Linked DNA regions of Homo sapiens: regions 1 and 3 are each linked to region 2. Evidence: promoter capture Hi-C in 16 types of primary human blood cells and fetal thymus (Javierre and others, 2016). All regions are on one chromosome and are shown on one strand. Each heading gives the region's core, a stretch centred on a gene start or on the middle of the fragment in contact. The rest is flanking DNA. Distances are from core to core; before and after follow the strand shown.

Region 1 (4,140 bases), core at 1,506-4,005, 520 kb after region 2:
CTGTGTTTAATCACTTCTCTTTCAGACATTTAATAGCTGTTTCTTTTCCTTTTTGCTTGATAAATAGTACTGCAATCAACAACTTTGTTGGCATATGATTATTTTCTTAGAATAGATTCTGAAAGTGAACTTACTGGCTTAAAGACTTTGAACATTTTAAAGGCTCTTGATATATATTGTCAAAAAACTTTGTACCCATTTATAATCCCACAGCTAGGGTTTAAGAGTTAGTTTCACTCAACTCCCCAAACATGGATGCCAACTTCTAAAGAACTGATGCCAATTTAATAGTTGGAAATGATAACTTATGTTGTATTTGGCATTTCTTCTAAAGTCTTTTTTTCTGATTATAAAGTAATATAAGCTAATTGTAGAAAGCCTAGAAAATATGGAAGATTAGAAAAATAGTCATTTTTCATTTGTATATAAATATAACAACAGTTTTATGATTATTCCTTTGTCTTCTTCCTGTGTATATATTAAAATACATACCTAATATTTATAATATTGAGGTCATATGGCTGATACTTTCATCTAAATTTTATTTAATAGTATACATTGTGACAACTTTCCTGAGTTATCAAATATTCTCCAGAGCACTGAATCTGCTGTAAAATATTTAGCCTTCCTTGCTTATTGGGCATTGTATCAATCGATTATACAATTGATCAATACATAGCATTGCCATACATATCATTGTTCAAAGCCTCCAAATGCACTTCTGATGATTTCAACAGAATTTATGACTGACGCAGAATAAATTGGAATCATGGGTTTAAATGATATGGATATTTTAAAGTTTCTTGATAAAAATTGTTAAATTTTTCCTTCCCTGATAATTTACTCTCTATAAAGTCCAGAAGCATAACTTAATTGCCCCCCCCACCAAGTTACTCTCACGAATTATTTTATTTGAGAAATTTGGTCACTTGTGGCTCTCAGTGATAAATATGTTGAGAAGTTTCCCATATGTATAGATGATAATAGTAACTCATATTTACAAAGTTTATAATTTACATTTACCATGTATGTTTACATTTTAATTACAATGATCTTAGGAATGTGGAGGTTGGGGGCTATAGGAGAGCAGCCAGTGGGGAATAAAGTCAAGATTCAGACCAGGTCTTCAATTCCTAAATCTTGTAGTTTTAATTAAATCACATTACCAATGTACCTAGTTCCAGCATATAAAGTGACTCCAGAGGCGTTAAGAAAGTTCTGGAATAATGTTAAGGGAGTCAATAGCAAACGTACATACTGTATTTTTAGAATGAGACTGATTTACACTTGGGGGCTTTTAATTGCAGTCGTCCATCAGTTTTAAATTTTCAGTGTCTAAATATAAAAACGCAGCAATATAAAAAAAAGCCAGCTGTTTTCTTACTCAGAGCATGAATTGATGAGTTTATGAATGAGTGAAGTGACAGCAAGACTAAGAATAGTCTAGCCCTTTTCAATCACCTAAGCCATCTATCAATACCTTGGAGAGCTTCCAATTTCAGGTCACCTCCCCCGACCCCCCTCCACCCCACAACATTCTCGGAAAAAGCAAATTTTCAACTGACAAAGGAAAATGGATACATTAATATCTTCCATGTTTTTCAAAACATTTCGTTTATTTTGCTACTTGAAAACGGTCTTCCCTTTTGCCCCATGTAAAATAAAATTGCTCATGATCTATGGTCCCGTGAGAGCTTATTTAAGGAGCACTGACGGATTCTATTTTCCTTATTAATGTGGCATATTTGCCACGTGTGCAAATGAAAACATCCCTTTCCAATGAGTGCCTAGGAGGAAATCAGCTCTTCCTTCCTCGAAGAGTTTTAATTCATGGGTATGATCTATTTCTTTCTTTCTTTATTTTGTTTTATATATTTTTTAGAGACAGAGTCTCGGTTTTTTGTCCAGGCTGGGGTGCAGTGGCATGATCTCGGCTCACTGCAACCTGTGCCTCCCGGGTTCAAGCGATTCTTCTGCCTCAGCCTCCTGAGTAGCTGGGATTACAGTCATGTGCCACCACCCCCGGCTAATCTTTGTATTTTTAGTAGAGAATGGGTTTCGCCATCTTGGCCTGGCGGGTCTCGAACTCCTGACCTCAGGTGATCCACCCGCCTCAGCCTCCCAAAGTGCTAGGATTACAGGCGTGAGCCACCTCGCCCAGCCGGTAGGATCTATTTCTGAAGACAATGTGGAAGCAGAGTGTGGGCCCTCCACAGGTGTAGCGAGGCGGCGTGCTACCGCGAAGAAGGAGGGAAGACGCCTGAGCCCAGCCGGTGCCCTGCTGCCCCTCTGCCTCTTCGGCCACTGGGGCTGAGCTTCAGCCTTACCAATCCCCGCCGCGCACGCGCGCTCGCTTCCCGCGCGCAACCTCCCACCCCCGCCCTCACTGCACCTGCCAGGTCATAAACCTCTTCCCACCCACTCTCACTCTCTACCCAAGGCTCAGGCTTGTCTCACGTTGATTGGCCAGAGCCCACGAGGGCACGTCCAATCAGCAATCCCCCCTGCGCAACCTATCCCGGTTCTTCCCGCCCCCGCCCCGCCCCGCCCGCCCCCCCGGGTACCTACCGTCTCTGTGACTGGTGCGCGGCCAGGTCACTCAGGGCGGCGGGGCGAGGTGTGCGGGAGTGGGCAGGACGGGTGGGAGGAGGGGAGGGGTGGGAGAAGGCGGGGCTCAGGTGCCTGGCAGCGCGGCCGGGGCCCAGGAAGGGGAGGGGGCGAACGCTGGAGCGAGGCGGGGGCGGGTGAGGAGGGGGTGACGCCGGACGCGTCGACAGCGCGAGGGTTCGCGCGTGAGCTGCGCGGGTCGGGCCTGGTACCGAGCTTTCCTGGGGGCTAGCAGGTCGTGGACGCCGGCTCCTGGAGGAGAGCCGGTAGGAGGGAGTGTGAAGGTGTCCGCGGCGTCGTCGACGGCGGCGCCGGCCATGGAGGAGACGCAGCCGCCGCCGCAGCCTAAGCTGCCCCTGTGCGACAGCCTCATGATCTGGGTGAGTGCGAGGAGGCGAGAGGGCGAGGGGGCCAGGGGGCCGAGGCGAGGAGCCTGGGGCGCCCGGTTCTCCCAGGTGAGCTGGGGCTACCTGCACAGGGTCCCGGCGCACCCTGCCCTTCTCACCTCGTGCCCTTGACCGAGAGAATGCCACCTGCGGGTCGACGGGCAGGTGTGTGGGCGCGGGTTGGTGTCCGGGGGTGGGGGTAAAGGAAGCTCTGGGAGCGTAACAGTGGAGGCTCTGGTCTCAACCAGAGGATTCGACCTGCCTGGTGCCCTAACAGCTGGGATATGAACCAAGCACCCATCCTCTTTTCTCCCCGCTGCCCCATTTTCTCCCCCTGAACAGCGCCCGAGCCCTCCACTTTCTGGATCGCCGACTCTCTTGCCTTGGTCCGCTTGGGCGTGAAGACCCTTTCCGAAACCTAACCCTGCATCCTCAAACTACCTTGCTCTACCTGGACACAGGTGGCCAGGAGGTGGCTGGCTGTTTTAGTTCCCGGACCAATGCTCCTTCAGGACTCTAGAACATCCGATTTTGTAGAAGCCGCTTCAAAGAGATGTTTGTATTTCCCGTATGGAGAAAAAGATGTGTTGGGAGTCGGGGGTCGTTTTCCCTTTTTCTCGCTGGCCCTCTCCTCCTCTAAATGGACAGCATTTTCTTTAAAGAAAATGAGTTGACATTTTTCTTTAGGATTTATCTGTGTTTAGGATTTTTGTTAATTTGTGTTGGGTCTGGACAGGCATATCTGTCCCCAGATTGTTCAATATTCCAGTCAGCAAAATGACATCCCACCTCTTAGAGTTACTTAGATATCAGTGCTGGCATTCAGGTGTGGTTCTTAACCCATATTGAGTAAAGATGGTGTTTGATGAGCCACAAGGTGCTGTTGATGATGCTCATCCCAAACCAGTTGTTTAGTTGCGTCTAGGGGAGTGTGTGCAGATGGAATGTAAACAGACGGGATCAGGAGGCTGTAATCGGTTGAGATTCCCTAGTGATCTAATGCATCTAATTCCAAAGAATGAGAAATCTAGGTTTATGGAAATGTGTGAAGCCTATTGGAAATAGCCATAATTTAAAGCATTTACACTTTGTAAGTAAATAACTTTTGCTTTTAGTGGAATGCAAATATTTAGGGTTTGTGAGTTAA
Region 2 (3,700 bases), core at 1,040-3,539:
CAAATGGAAGTAAATGGAAAAAAAAAAAAGGATTCATTCATTCGTAATAGGCAGTGTATCATAACTGAAAAAGATAGTGAAAATTGGTTTCAGACAAACCCAGGTAAGAATCTCACCTTCGCCACTTGGCTGGAAAACTCTGAACAAATTATTTTTACTCTTTGGGCCTGTTTCTGCATCTATCACCTTATAAGGTTGCTGTCTGAGAATTCTACTATACAATGTAATGTATCTGTTAGAGTGTAATATATCTGTTATTAGGTTTGACCTCATACAATAGAAACACAAAATAAAAGTGTCTTACACAGGACAGCAGTTTTTTTCTTTCATGTGGAGGTCTGGAGGGCAGTGGGTATTGATTGGTTCAGTGCCTCCTGCATTAGGAATCCACGCTTCTTTCACTTTGTTGCTTTGCTGTGTGTGGGTTTCATTCCTGAGGTCCTTTCATGGTTCAACACGGCTGCTGGAGCAAATAAAAAATCAAATACACAAAAGCCCAGAGAAAGAGCCATCCACAGAGGCCAGGCAACAAATCCACTTATTCAAGTCTAGCCAAGATGAGACCCCCTTGCCACAGTGCATGAAACCAGCATATTCCACTTATTCCATTCTTGGGGTACGTTGAAACAGATCTGGAAGCAATGTCTTCTGTGTATTAAGCATCTAACACTTTACAAAGCATTTTCATATGTCTTACCACATTTGTTCTTCATAATGTTCTGAAAAGGTAAGATGAATACATCTTATTATTCCTATTGAACACTTGATTCACACAGCTGCTAAGTAACAGATTCCAACGAGTCTATAGCTAGGTCTTTGGGTATGTTGCTGGTAATGAAAAGGTGAACAATCATGGTGCAGAAGAAAGAAAATGAGCCAAACCAGGATCCCTGGTAGAGTTGTAGTGCAAAGACTGGGGTTAATTGTGTGGCCTCAGCCTCACTGGGCTGTTCTCCTCACCTGTAAGACCAAGATAAGAGCACTTATTTACTTCGGGGTTGTTGTGAAGATAGCAGACAATCTTAGTGCACCTGCCACTTAAGATCCGTTCAGTGAAATTATTACCTTTCACAGGTGTGTCTTTGGAAAATCACTTCCCTTTCCTGGATCTCAGTTTTCTTTTCTAGGAAAACAACATGTTTGGACTCAGCGACTGCTAAACTGTCTCCCAAACCTCGAACTCCCTCAGCCTGGGATCCTGCCTTTTATGAAAATAGTTCGGATTGGAGCTCAGGTTGGAATTCTCGCTTTAGTTGCTTGCTAGCTGTGTGTCCCAGTAAAAGCTAAAAATTTCGGATTCCCCACATCTGTAGAATAGGGATACATAACATGCAGCTTATTAGAAAGGGAAGGCATGTGAGAATTAAATTAGGTCCGTGTCCAGTACCCACTAAATTGTAAAAACTTCTCAAAGGCAGGGACCCATCTGTTTTGTAGATTTACAGAATGTCATACGTTGAAGTACGGGGGTTCGCCACGGGATTAGAAAATTTCTGTAGAGTAAGGAACAAGACACAAGGTAAGCATTCAAGAATTGTAACCATGCAATATTCTTATTTCTTACAGTCGCCTACAACAGTCCTGGTGTTTAGTAAACGGTCTGACACACACACCCATCAGGGGCTGCGGAGAGTCCGCCTGGGTAAGCTCCGCAAGGTGAGTCCCCAGAGCCGGGAACTCGCAGCCTGAGCAGACGCAGCGTAGCCGATCTTGGGTCCGCGCTCCTCCCGCCTTGCCCAGCCCTGCCCGCGGTTGGCTAGGCCCCAGGGAACGCTGCAGCCGCGGGGTGGGCAGGCGACGGCCAATCCCACGCCCGGTTCAAAGGGCCAATCAGGCCGCGCTTTACAGGGGCCGCGCTTTACAGGGGCCGCGCTTTACAGGGGCCGCGCTTTACAGGGGCCGCGCTTTACAGGGGCCGCGCTTTACAGGGGCCGCGCTTTACAGGGGCCGCGCTTTACAGGGGCCGCGCCGGCGGGGGCGGGATCGCGCGCAAGGCGGGGCTGTAGCCGCCCCGGGACCGCCCTGCTCAGGCGCCGTGGGGTTCGGCGCGGCTACGTGCAGAATCCGTCTAGCTAAAATGTAATTTCAGATTGGACAAGTACTGTAAGTGACCCTCCTCTCAGTCCCACGTGGGCGCTGGGGGCTTTTGCTGGTGCGCAGGCTCTTAGCGCGCACGCCCAGAAAGAGGCTTCTCCAACCCGGCCCGGCCCTTCCTTCCCCTTTCCCGCAGTCGTTGCCTCCTCCTCCCCTGCCTCCTCCTCCCCTTCCTCCTCCTGGCCGCTTAGTCTCACACCCGCCGGGCCGTTGTTCCCGAGACGTTGTTGAGTCCCCTGTGTCCTCTTCTGGGTGAGGCGTCCGGCCACTTAAGGGAAGGGAAGGGAAGGGTCGGCCTTGACTGCATCCCCAAGGCTGCCTATTAGGTGTCTGGAACCCGTGCTGCTTCCTCTCCGATCAGTGCCCACTTATCTGTATTCAGTACTCTTTCTCTCCTCCCCTTACCCTTGTAGGACATTTTCCTGGCATTTGAGGAGCCTTTAATTCACGTCTGGCTACCGAAGGCATTTTTAGGCTAGTGTTGCTTGTAGATTTAAACGCTTCCAGCACTTGTGATAATGTTTGAGGCACAGCTGAGTTTAGATGAGATAATGCTGTTTGGTTACAGTTATCCTGAGTAGAAAGGCCTAGGGATATCTTTTCATTTTTAGCCGTTTCCTTTTTATTTAAAGATTGACAAGGGGCCGGGCGCGGTGGCTCACGCCTGTAATCCCAGCACTTTGGGAGGCCAAGGCGGGTGGATCACGAGGTCAGGAGATCGAGACCATCCAGGCTAACACGGTGAAACCCCCGTCTCTACTAAAAATACAAAAAATTAGCCGGGCGTGGTGGCGGGCGCCTGCAGTCCCAGCTTCTCGGGAGGCTGAGGCAGGAGAATAGCGTGAACCCAGGAGGCGGAGCTTGCAGTGAGCTGAGATCGTGCCACTGCACTCCAGCCTGGGGGACAGAGCGTCTCAGAAAAAAAAAAAAAAAATTGACAAGGTGCAAAATGGTGAATTTCCCTCATCATGGGCTGTTTTCCACTAAAGCACTTCTGTGTCTTAACACAAATTTCTTCCCCGAAGAGTCAGTCATGACATGACCAAAGTCTGAAAAGCAGTTAATCCTTAGGTTAAATTTTAAAGTATGAGACCAGGAGGGGTGAGGTGCTTATTCTTTTGACTTGTAAATCAGAATGAAAGAAGGGAAAGTCTTTTATTTTGTGGCTGTTATTTAAATGGTAGAGTTTTGCTTTGTATAGTTTTTGCTTGCTTTTCCTCTTTTTTTTCTATGATCCACCACGTGTATGTCCTGATTTTTTTCCTTTTTAACTTGCTTGCTGGATTTTCCAGCCAGATGACTGCCGCTTGGTCTTCTGGGAGTCTCCTGTTAATGGGGCCCTCATGCTTGGCTCTTGACCTGATGGCCACTGGCCTGGCTCTTGGAGGACCTCCTAGTGGGAGGCCCAGAGCACTGTTATTAAGGATGATTGGGGGAACAGATCAGAGGGGGTCAGCTGGGCCTGGAGATCAATTTTGAGGGGGAGGGAGGTTGGGAGCCTGCCTGGCTGGATTTGGAAGTCAAAACATGTGTGCTGGGAGAAGGGCATAACCCCAGAGGGTGGAGAGCCATGTCTTTCTGGATAAAATTAATAAGTTTACTGGGA
Region 3 (3,682 bases), core at 189-2,688, 740 kb before region 2:
CTGCCACGTGAGGATAAAACAAGACAGCTGTTCGTACACGAGGAAGAGGGTCCTCACAAAATCCAACCATGCTGGCATCTTCATTTCAGACTTTCAGCTTCCCAAACTGTAAGAAAAAATAGTTTGTTGCTGAAGCCAGTCAGTCTACAGTACTTTGTTGTAGCAACCTGAACTGACTGAGACACATGATCAGATTCCATTCTCAGAACCAACCTTCCAACCAAGCAATATTGATTTGCTACACTTAAAAGTTTGGCTTTTGTCAAATTTCCAAAGCTATTTACCCCGTCTGAATTCAGAGGATTGACATGAATAATTTCCTTTGGATATGCCCTTGGGAAAAGGGCTTCATTTTAAGCACAGCTTAATGAGGTGTAAGAAGCTTTTGAAGGTGTTCTTTACAGAGTATTCATGGTAGGAGGTTTGCTTGAAGGGTCACACTGAAGACTGTGTCCCGTGACAGCATCACTGAAGTTTGACTTTGGATGTAACACTGAAAGTAGATGCTGTGCTACACCAGCAGATCCCCATTCACTGAAGTTATCATTCTGGCAGCTGCCTGCCTCCCTAGAGATTTCCCTTGGCTGGAGACACCGGCTTCATCCAAGGATAGGCTCTCTGCCCAGCGACAACACTTACCCCACAAACTTTGGGAGTACACAGTCCTGACTCCTATGCATCAATTGAGGATAACACTGCAAGGCCATCCACGCGGCAGAGACCTCCATGGGACTGGAAGCTCCACTTCTGCCTCTACCCAGTCCTGTTTCCCTTACTCCCTTATAAGTGTTGTTCCTTGGCCAGGCACAGTGGCTCACGCCTGTAATCCCAGCAACTTGGGACGCTGAGGTGGGCAGATCACTTGAGGTCAGGAGTTTGAGATCAGCCTGGCCAACATGGTGAAGCCCCTGTCTCTACTAAAAATACACACATACACACACACACACAAACACACACACACACACACACACACACAGAGATTAGATAGGCATGGCGGCTCGTGCCTATAGTCCCAGCTACTCGGGAGGCTGAAGCAGAAGAATTGTTGTTCCTTGGCCGGGCACAGTGGCTCACGCCTGTAATCCCAGCAAGTTGGGACGCTGAGGTGGGCAGATCACTTGAGGTCAGGAGTTTGAGATCAGCCTGGCCAACATGGTGAAGCCCCTGTCTCTACTAAAAATACACACATACACACACACACACACACACACACACACACACACACACACACACAGAGATTAGATAGGCATGGCGGCTCGTGCCTATAGTCCCAGCTACTCGGGAGGCTGAAGCAGAAGAATTGCTTGAAGCTGAGAGGCAGAGGTTGCAGTGAGCCGAGATCACACCACTGCACTCCAGCCTGGGTGACAGAGCAAGACTCCGTCCTAAATAAATAAATAAATAAGTGTTGTTCCTGAGGTCTCTCCCCTATAAGCCTGCACAAAAAGATTTATCTCAGAATCTGTTTCCAGGGAACCCAGCCTAAAACAATTCAGTCTTCTCCAGTGGAAAACTATATTAAATGCCATGACACAGAAAGACATTCATTCACACCTCCTATAGAAAGTGCTGGATGCTGAATACTGAGTTAAAGAAGAGAGTGACTCTGAAGAATTATGAGGCATGGCTTGTCTTATAACAGGTTTAGACAGAAGTTCAACAGACAACAATCAGGCCTCTGATGATATAGATTCAGAATGAGAACCAGGTGAAACAGCCACAGGATTTGATGAGGGTCACGTACTTGGAAGGCTGCAATGTATGGGTGGCACCTTGACTGAAGTGGCCTTTCGTTTTTCTTGAATATGTGCCAGGCATGACTGTCCAAAAGGGTTGAAATTGTGAATTTGAAATCACTCCAACACAGAGAATTTCAGCATCTTCATTGAAACGTTCTACTCCAACAAAAATCAGCTCAGTGCTTACTTCAACCACAGTTGACTTCTTTTTCTTTCTTGTGTCATCCTAGCCCTTCTTCCCACATAACATGAATAAATCTGCCATTTTAAAGTTAATTTTTTGCTTGAAGAGAATGGTCACACCAAGTTCCAGTGTGTTATTTTTACGAATTGCCATCTAAATTATTAGTGCACTAGTATCCTGACTGGTCTCCCTGTCTCCAGCCTCGTTCCTCTTGTCTATACTGCAGCCACCAGGACCCAGCTCCTGAAATTGGGTGTGGGATAATTCAGTATGGCTCAGCGAGCTCCATGCAGGGCCATGGGGGAAGGTCTTACTGTGGACATGCCCTTGCTCACTCCCCAGAGATCAGTTCTTCAAAGATGCCAGATGAGCACTTTTCTAAGTGTCAGTGCAAACTATTATTTCTTTATTGCACAAGTGAAATACTAATACCATAGAAAAGCAAAACAAAAAAGAGAAAAATCACCCTTAACCTCACTATCCCAAAATAACCACTGTTAACATTTTGATGCGTAACCCACTTGAAAAGCAAGATTTAAATTACCTTAAATATTTAAAACATTGATGAGATCAAAGCTTCCTCGTTGTTTTGATGTGTATTCCTTTGATTTATAATAATGTAAATGCTTTTTCATGCTTTTATGCTGTTTGGATTTCTTCTTTAGCAAATTGCCTGTTCATGCCCTTAACCCATTTTTCTGTAATATATTCATTTGTATCTTATAAACTTAAAACATTTTTTTATACATTTAAGAATTGTCTGTCATTTATGTAGCAAACATTTTCCCCACTTGAAGTTTGTCTTTCAACTTTGTTGATTCAGGTGAAAAATACACTTAATTGCTGAAATTTTGATACAGTCAAAAATATCCATCTTTTCATTATGGTTTCTGCCTTCGAGATCATATCTACTGTCTGTCTCAAAATTAAGATTAAATATTTATCATTATTCTAGTACTTGAATGACTTTGTTCTTTCTTAAATCTTTTAAAATATTTAATCTACCAGGAATTTATTTCAGCATAAAATAGGAGGAAAAAAAATAACCTAAAATATTTTCGGAATAATTAGGCCAGTGGAGCTTTTACAAAGGATGCATGCATGTGCCCTCCCCATGGTTAGGACCACCAAAGTAACTGCTGTCCCAACAATTAATTTAACATGTCCTGACTGACTTAAAGCATCACTGTTACGATATGCTAAATTCCTGTAAATATCTACATATGTTTCTGCAGTTTCCCTTTTTTTCCTTGGTCTGACTGTTCTGGAGTTAGTGCATGATTCTTTCTATTTATTGTAACTTTGTAATATACATTTTATTTTCAAATATTGTCTGGCTCTTACACATTTGACCTTCAAGATGAACTTCTGAACAGTTTTTTTCCAGCTCCCTTCCTAAAAAAAAAGGAATTGGGATTTTTGATTCTGTTATTGTTGTTGTTTTTAATCTTGGATTCATTTGGGTGAGATGTATATCTTTGCAATGTTGACTGTCAATCTAGGAAATATGTGCATCTCCATTTATCCAGGTCTTCTTTTATGTCTCTCCATAAAGTCTTACAGTTTTCTTATATGGGTCAAAGCAGTATATTTTTAAAAGGAACTATAAACTTTACTTCTTAGGATTATGGAATCTCAGCGCTTGAAAGGACTTAAAAATCACCTCACTGGCCGGGTGCGGTGGCTCATGCCTGTAATCCCAGCACTTTGGGAGGCCGAGGTGGGCGGATCACGAGGTCAGGAGATCGAGACCATCCTG

Evidence for each region. The method cuts DNA at HindIII sites, captures the fragments that hold promoters and counts their contacts. A CHiCAGO score of 5 or more calls a contact.
Region 1: a contact is called between the fragment with the promoter of HOOK1 here and the fragment with the promoter of FGGY in region 2, in 3 of 17 cell types (non-activated CD4 T cells, naive CD8 T cells and naive CD4 T cells). The highest score is 6.8, in non-activated CD4 T cells.
Region 3: a fragment that was not itself captured here is called in contact with the fragment with the promoter of FGGY in region 2 in 1 of 17 cell types (non-activated CD4 T cells); the score reaches 5.2 in non-activated CD4 T cells.

What each region holds. Positions count from the first base shown.
Region 1 is chr1:59,812,194-59,816,333 of GRCh38, forward strand. HOOK1 (hook microtubule tethering protein 1) reads left to right here and starts at 2,756. Exons shown (of 22, transcript NM_015888.6): 1 at 2,756-2,987. The coding sequence starts at 2,925. LOC105378758 (a long non-coding RNA gene) reads right to left here and starts at 2,673. Exons shown (of 5, transcript XR_947426.3): 1 at 2,569-2,673. RefSeq lists a silencer at 2,224-2,823 and an enhancer at 3,060-3,623. The HindIII fragment of the contact is 6,303 bases long and covers 1-4,140 here.
Region 2 is chr1:59,294,805-59,298,504 of GRCh38, forward strand. FGGY (FGGY carbohydrate kinase domain containing) reads left to right here and starts at 2,290. Exons shown (of 16, transcript NM_018291.5): 1 at 2,290-2,346. FGGY-DT (FGGY divergent transcript) reads right to left here and starts at 1,746. Exons shown (of 2, transcript XR_001738089.2): 1 at 1,565-1,746; 2 at 1-960. RefSeq lists silencers at 1,692-2,231, 2,242-2,331. The HindIII fragment of the contact is 6,368 bases long and covers 1-3,700 here.
Region 3 is chr1:58,551,330-58,555,011 of GRCh38, forward strand. No RefSeq gene overlaps it. Among named protein-coding and RNA genes, the nearest start is that of OMA1, 6.4 kb to the left of the region's middle. The HindIII fragment of the contact is 2,117 bases long and covers 381-2,497 here.